Linked DNA regions of Homo sapiens: all the other regions are linked to region 1. Evidence: promoter capture Hi-C in 16 types of primary human blood cells and fetal thymus (Javierre and others, 2016). All regions are on one chromosome and are shown on one strand. The core of a region is centred on a gene start or on the middle of the fragment in contact, and the rest is flanking DNA. Distances in the headings are between cores, read along the strand shown.

Evidence for each region. The method cuts DNA at HindIII sites, captures the fragments that hold promoters and counts their contacts. A CHiCAGO score of 5 or more calls a contact.
Region 2: a contact is called between the fragment with the promoter of OR2B6 here and the fragment with the promoter of PRSS16 in region 1, in 8 of 17 cell types (monocytes, total CD8 T cells, M2 macrophages and 5 more). The highest score is 7.7, in monocytes.
Region 3: a fragment that was not itself captured here is called in contact with the fragment with the promoter of PRSS16 in region 1 in 1 of 17 cell types (erythroblasts); the score reaches 5.4 in erythroblasts.

The regions. Positions count from the first base shown.
Region 1 is chr6:27,246,402-27,248,995 of GRCh38, reverse strand. It overlaps PRSS16 (serine protease 16), which reads right to left and starts at 1,295. Exons shown (of 12, transcript NM_005865.4): 1 at 1,189-1,295; 2 at 948-1,114; 3 at 50-149. The coding sequence starts at 1,258. The HindIII fragment of the contact is 3,507 bases long and covers 1-2,594 here.
Region 2 is chr6:27,955,943-27,958,536 of GRCh38, reverse strand. It overlaps OR2B6 (olfactory receptor family 2 subfamily B member 6), which reads right to left and starts at 1,296. Exons shown (of 1, transcript NM_012367.1): 1 at 355-1,296. The coding sequence starts at 1,296. The coding sequence ends at 355. The HindIII fragment of the contact is 2,455 bases long and covers 338-2,594 here.
Region 3 is chr6:27,776,894-27,779,487 of GRCh38, reverse strand. No RefSeq gene overlaps it. Among named protein-coding and RNA genes, the nearest start is that of TRQ-CTG6-1, 13 kb to the left of the region's middle. RefSeq lists a silencer at 1,546-1,605. The HindIII fragment of the contact is 2,981 bases long and covers 1-2,594 here.

The DNA.
Region 1 (2,594 bases), core at 46-2,545:
CTGGTCCCCACCAGCATCCCAACTCCTTTCCCCCAACATTGCCTCTTACCTCTCATCACTGAGCCAGGCCCAAGGCTGCCCTCACCCCCTAGATGCAGGAATATGGGTCCATCCTGGCCAACCCAATGTTGGTCATTCACCCAGTAACGCTGAGAGGTGGGATGGGGAAGAAGAAATGGCACTGTGAGAGTCCTGACTTATTCTCAATTCCTCATTTGTTCCAGTCTCTCTTCCTAATGGATCTTTCCTTATGTACTTAACAGTGTCTGAAATGAGCTTGTTTATTTACTTGCTCACTTTTCCCCTGTTCATCTCCTCATCTAGAATGCAAAATATACAAAAGCAAATTTTTGACCTGGTTTTTCACTCTTATATCCCCAGAACTGAGGGAGTGGCTCTCACATTGAAGGAACTTGCTATTTCTTGAAGTAATAATTGTAAAATAAGAAATAAATGCAGATGGATTTAGGAATAAGATCCAAGTGGGATGATATTTGGAGACTAAATACAGAGGAAGCACTGAAAAATGGCGAATTTGTTCCTTCTTTCGATAGATATCTTTGAGTGCCTGTTGTGAGCTAGGTCTGATTCCAAAGCTGGTTCAAATTTCTGCTACCTACTGAGACCTGGTGGTAGGTTTTGTGTCCAGTCTGGACAGGGACAAGGGGGTAGGGAGGAGCAGTGAATGTGAATGACAGAGAGAAAGAAATGGTGAAGGGCAAGATCTGAGGGACAAAACGAGTGGGACCCCGAGGAGAGGAGAGAGTAAGGCCAAATCTACAAAGGGCAGGAAAAGGGATACTGACAGCAAGCATAACATGAGATTCAAGCAGAGGGATGGGGAGAACTGAGGTGTGGAGAGAGAAAAAAGTGCAGACTGAGGAAGAGATGAGGGAGACTGAGGAGAGGGCAGGATGGTTAGTGGACTCCCCGTCTCCCGGCCTCACCTGTAGGAAGGATCGTCTGTCGGACACGTTGAAGGGGTCCAGCAGTTGCTCCAGCCACCCCACTTTTGGGAGGGCTGCAGCACCTGGCCCCAGGCTCAGGCCCAGGCCCTGGGCAGAGCTCTCCTGAAACTGCTGAATGTGCTCACCCAGGCGCCTAAGAAGGGAGGCTGTGGGACATGGAGGGAAGGAAGTCAGGCTGGCCCCCTTAGGATGCCCTGCTTGACCCTCAGCCTCCTCTTACCTGGAGCCAAGAGTCCCCAGAGGGAAACCAAGAGCAGAGGGCCCAGCCACTGGGCAAGCCAGACGGCCATGGTGTTCGGGACTCTGTTCTCCCCCAGGAGGACCTTTATCTTATCCTCAGCAGCCGGGCCTTAAATCCATCACCTTTCAGCAGAGGCTCAGGTTTCTTTCCTTTCCTGGCAGGTCAAGCGTCTGTAGGAACTGCTAAAGCGGGGCAGGGACGCCAGAGTCTGTACACAGAGGCTGCTGATGCAGCATCGGAACTCCCAGTTTCTTCTCTCTGGGCCTCTCAGTCTGTTCTTCCCTCAGCTCTCAGTAGCCCTCGCTGTCTCAGTCTCCTCCTCTCCGCTCTTCGGTCTACCTTCTCTTTATCTCAGATTCCTCCTTTGCATGCCTTATTGTCCTTCAACCTCTGTCTCTCCCCACCTCAGCACCTCCTCTGGAACCCCAGTTGCCCACTTATTCTCAGTCTTTTCTTTCTGCCCCTCAGCATATCTTCAGTACCCCTCAGTTGTTCCCACACTCAGTCTTTCCGTCTCTTTTTTCTCAGTCCCCCATCTCTTTTTCAGTCTTTCTCTCCATACTCATCTCTTTGTCCCCCAATCTCACCTTGTCTATTTTCCAGCCCCCTCACTTTCTGCTCTGCTTCACTGTCCCGAGCTTCTCTGACCCACAATCTCACACTGTCCATAGACTCCTTACAGTTCTTTGAACATACCAGGCTTGCTTCTGCCTTAGGGTTCTTATTCTTGTTGTTCCCACCCTATGGATTGTGATTTCCCTATATACCCACGTGGTTTGCTCCCTCACTTCAACTGGATCTTTATTCAAAGGTCATTCATTCAGAAAGGTCTTCCATGGTCAGCTTTTTAAAAATTGCCAAACCTATGGCCCTCTTCTATTCCTTTTCAAACTTTATTCCTAATTCTTTTTCATGGGACTTATCACTATGAGAAATATTGTACATTTAAAAAGTTATTCCCATAAATTTAAAAAATATATCCAGAATCTGATGACTTCTCACTACCTTCAGTGCTACCACTGCTGAGCCACCATCATCTCTGACTTGGGATATCATGGAAGGCTTTTAGCTGGTCACCCTGTTTCTGCCTCATGATTTATTCTACACTCAGCAGACAGAGAGACAGAATTAAATATTAGCCCAATCATTCACAATCATTCACTCCCTGGTTTAGAACACTTCCCTGATGCCCCATCTTACTCAAAGTAAATCTAAAGTTTTGAAAACAGTTTTTAAAACTCTGTATGACCTGGCCCCCTGTTGTATATACTGTCATGATTTCATCTCCTACCCCTCCTGGGTTCACTGCTCCAACTGCATTGGACTATTTCATATTTCACAAGACTCACTCCTTCCTTAGAATTTTTGCTCTCCTTAGGATGCTT
Region 2 (2,594 bases), core at 47-2,546, 710 kb before region 1:
CTAGTGTGTGTGTGTGTGTGTGTGTGTGTGTGTGTGTGTGATATTGGAGAAAGAACTTCTGGCTTTTCTACGGATCTAATTTACATTGAATTGTACAAGCATTGATGGGATGTTTGACAAACCTTGAAGATGTTGTGATTACAATTTTTGGTGAATTGGAAGGTCAATTCTGGGGGCTTGTTCAATGAAAACATTAAGGCAACAGAAGTAAATATAGCTCTTCATCAAGGAAATTTTATTTGAGGGAGTTTACATTGTTCTCTACAGTAACAACAAAAATAGGGCAACTTACAGAGAAGTTAGTAAGCTAAGTAAACATTTTGTCTTTAGCAAAGCTTATCATTTGCATATTTCTTATTTCTTGATTAAGAAGACTCTTGCAACCAACCTTTTAAAGCCTTCCTTTACCTCCTTGTTCCTAAGTGTATATATAAGGGGATTCAGCATGGGTGCAATGATTCCATAGAAGAGAGAAACCATCTTTCCTTGGTCCTTGGAGCTGGGCGAAGGTGGTTGCAGGTACACAGAGACGGCTGTACTATAAAAAAGAGACACCACAATTAGATGGGAACCACATGTCCCAAATGCTTTTTGTCGACCTTCAGCAGACTGTATCCTCAATACTGCTCGGACAATAAAAGCATATGATATAAGGATGAGTGTCAGGGGTATTAGATGGAAGAGCTCACTGACAAGGAATAGTTCAGCCTCATTTGCTGTTGTCTCAACACAAGATAACTTGAGCAGTGCAGGGACTTCACAGAGAAAGTGATCTATCACATAGGGGTCACAGAGTGGCAGCTGGAGAGTCAGGGTAGACAACCACACTGAGTTACTAAAACCAGTAACCCAGGATGCAGCTGCCAACTGGAGGCAGAGTCTCTGGTGCATGATAACTGAGTAATGGAGAGGCCGACAAATAGCTACAAACCTATCAAAGGACATGACGGCCAGGAGAAGATATTCAGTAGCCCCCAAGGCCAGAAATATGAAAAGCTGGGCTACACAGCCACGATAACTGATTACTTTCCTGATGCTGCATAAATTTACTAGCATTTGTGGGACTGTACATGTGGTGTAACAAAGATCCAGGAGTGATAGATTGGTAAGAAAAAAATACATGGGGGTATGAAGTTTGGTGTCCAGGCGTGACACTAGAATAATGGTCAGATTGCCAAAGATGGTCACAGTGTAAGAAATCAAGAAGACCACAAGGAGTGGAAACTCCAGCCAAGGTCGATCTGAGAAACCCAGCAGAATAAACTCCTGTATGATGCTGTCATTTACCCAATTCATGATTAATGTTTCAACTCTTGGTTTCCTGAAACAGAAAAATTCAGGAAGTCAATTAACACATATTTGTTAACTATTTCAGTTACTTATAGTCATTTTACTACCTGTTTGAAGATATTTACAGAATTGATATTGCTTGTTTTATTACATGAAAAATATACAGTTGAAAATGCTCATAATTACCAAAGTATTTCTAAAATTTAATCTTTCTATATCTGTATCATCACTGCAAAAGTGAAAGCTAAAATGTAAAAAGTAGATTCCTGATTTTAAACAACTTTCACAAAATTTCTTCTTTGATTTTTTGTCATTTGGTTAATTTTTGTAATACTGTCCACATAGATAGCTATTATTAGATTCGGTCATAATCTCTAACACATTTTTTTCACTCTAATTTCTCAATGTTAAGGAAACTGCCTTGTCATCTGAAACAAACAATTTGTTAGTTTCTTAAATTTTTTTTTATTTCAATAGGTTTTTGGGGAACAGGAGGTGTTTGGTTACATGAATAAGTTCTCTAGTGGTGATTTCTGAGATTTTGGTGCACCCACCACCTGAGCAGTGAACACTGTACCCAATGTGTAGTCTTTTATCCTTCAGCTCCCTCCTTCCCTTTCCCCCCAGTCCCCAAAGTCCATTGTGTCATTCCTCATAGCTTAGTTCCCACTTATGAATGGGAACATACGATGTGAAACAATTAAAATTATTTAGACCGCCTCAAAAACTATGCATATAGGCTGTAGCAAGCTATTAGACACATCTCAGGGAAACATCTTTTGCCTTCTAAGACCTTATCAAATTAGAATAAAAAGATATTAGTAGCATGGAATTTGGAGGCAGACAAGTCTGGGTCCATGTCCCTACTACATAAGTCATTAGTTACATCCTCCTGGGAATGTTTCTTACTCTTTGTGAGCTTCAAGCTCCTCACCTATAAAATGAGTATAATAATACCTTCCTGGGATAGTGGTACAAAGTGTAGACAAAAGGAACTGTAGTCATCTTCTGATGCTCAGAGAAAAATTATGTATGATTTTCAGAACTTTAAATGTCCTGGGGTTGCCAATAAAAAATGACTCTGTGAGGTAATATTTATCTTGTTCTCTCCACAACTCCAATACCATCAACTTTAACAACAGAGATAATAATAACTATCTGATGTGAAGTATAAATGTGATCTTTAATGTAAATTACCTGGTATAATGGCACACAGCAATGTGAATGAAAGTATCATATGACACAGGAACTCTGAGACATTCGGGGCAGAGGCTGTTCAGAGCCCTAAATTTGCTAAGTACTAA
Region 3 (2,594 bases), core at 44-2,543, 530 kb before region 1:
TACTATTTTAGAAATCCCATACAATTTTGAAATATATATTAGTATTATTCACAAAAATATAGCCTAAAGAAGATTGAGCATCATTTTGGCAATCCCATGTACCTAAACGTGTCAAATAATCCTGTTTACCTGTCTTTTCTGGACACTTCAGGGGCCCGCTGAAGTATTCAAAAAGCCAGGTGCCAGGGAAGAGATTTTTGAAACCGATGTTTGATTTTGGGAATTCCAGATTGCTATAAGTTATTTATTTTGCCAAAACGATGACTCAGAAATTTTAAAGAAGCAAAGACCTTTTATAACCCTTTTGTATTTAGTCAACATGTTCACACAGAGAACCTCTTCCGTTAAAAAAAAAAAAAGTAAAACATTCACATGCTTTCAAAAGTTAAAGGTATAACAAAAGGTAAACTCAGAGAAGTGGCGTCCCATGTCCCTTACACTCCATTTCCCCCAAGTCTCTTACCACCATTTTAGGTAGCCAGATTCACTGTTTTCTGGTTTATCTTCACTATGTTTTCTTTTCAGAAAGAAAAACAGGTATGTGTATGTTTTCTTAATTCCCCTTCCTTCTTGAAAAAAGGTAGCCTACTATAATATTCATCTGCACTTTCTTTACTTAACACTATCTCCTAGAAATTATATCTTTTTTGTAGCCCCATAGCGCTTCCTCTTTGAGTCCATGTTACAGTTTATTCAACCAATCTCTTATGCCTGGACATTTAAAGTTAGTTAAAATGCTTCTAGAAGGTAAGCAGACAAAATAAAGATTATTGGTCTTCTGAGTTTGCCCATGGAATTCTGATTCACAAAATGCTTTAAATGTACCCCTATGTTTTCTACCATTTACATTTTTTAAAAAAATCTATCCAAGTAGAATCAACCATTTTACACTTAACTTCATTGTTGCTTCTCTTTCTCATAACATTCCATGTGTCTAGTTTCTGTAAGTATGGAAGGAGGAGGGTATAAATGATGTCTTTTGGCCATCGTAACAGATAGCTTTAGAGAAGAATTCACAGTACACGAAATGAATTTAATAAATCATGCATAGAGATGAACAAAAGAGCAAAAGAAGCAGGAGGCTCCCGTAGAAGCAAAAAGACAATAACGATTTACAATAACCAATGGTCTCAGGCAAAAGTCAGTAACAGTGTTTTGCCTTCGAGTGCAAGAAAATATAAAATTATATTCAACCTCAGTGTATTTTCTATTCACTGGAAGATAGGTAATTTGTTGGAAGTAAACATGAGAATTGTCACCTCCTCTTCCCAAGTAAGATATGCCTTTCCAAATAAGATATGAGTAAGAAAGGAGTTACGCAAACATTTGGAGAAAGGAGAAGGAACATGCTGAAGACATATCTAAAAGTGAGATACAGCCTCTGAAAGGACTTTTAAGAGAGAGAGAGCGAGAGAGAGAGAGAGATATAATATATATAATATATATTTAGAGGCCATCTTCTCCCCACAACTGTGGAAGGTAATTCCTCAAGAAGGGGGGGGGGAAAAAAAAAAAAAAAAGCACCCTTCTTTAGCAGAGGATGGTTTAGATCCATCGACCTCTGGGTTATGGGCCCAGCACGCTTCCGCTGCGCCACTCTGCTAACGGAAAACACGCTTCTACTCTTCTTATTTATCATGCAGGTGATCAGCCATTTTGTTGTTGTTGTTGTTGTTGTTGTTACACTGTTTTGCCTCTTTCTGTTTTTCTTTCACTGTTTCTTTCCCGGTTTTTCTTTTTTCCTCTTGGCCTCTTAAGATCAGCTCACTCTAGAACCAGTTGATTCCAACAATCCCCTTCAAGTTGCGAGTTGCCCTTTCCAAATCTACCAAACATGCTTCAAAACCTGACATTTCTTTCTTTAAGAGCTGCTTTGGGCTCAGGAGCAGAAACAGGAGAAAAGTCAAGCAAAGCCCTCAGAAGCCCTTAGAGAGAATCGAGGAAGGCATTAAGTCAGACTACTCTCCTTAGAGAGAAAGTATATTAGCCAGTTCGCTTGTTTCCTGTCCCCAATAAAATTTCTTTCCCAACACTAGAAGTATTTTTGCGTATTGACCTAGAAGTATTTTTGCATATTGACCTAACGCCTTTTGCAGCTTTCCGGGCGCCTGGTGTACCCACGCAGCCCCACCTTATCCCCACCCCTATCCCTGCCGTTGAATTCATAAAAAGGGGCTTCCTACCCTAACCCTTTGGTGTTATGTCTGCGGACAGCTTTCACTTTCAGCGAATGTGGGCTTTCCCAGCCAAGGGCCCAAACAGAGACCTTTGATACTCCTTCATCCTGTGCTATGTCAAGAAAGTCCCTTCTGAAACTTTTATTTTGCTCTTTTCACCAACTTGCTTTTCCCGTTTTCTCAGAGTTTCTCTGTCTTCAGGAAAGCCTTGTGTTTCCAGTTCCAGGTCAGGCATAGGATTGGTGGCCATTACTCTCCACCAATTTCATTTACGTTTTCTTTCTTTTTTTTTTTTTTTCCTTTTCTAAAAAGACAGGGTGAGACACTGAGGCAGATATACTGGGGTTAGGAAGATATCCCAGAATAAGAGCATGAGAAAGCAGGCTGGAATGGTTCATGTGGACAAGATGAGTCCTA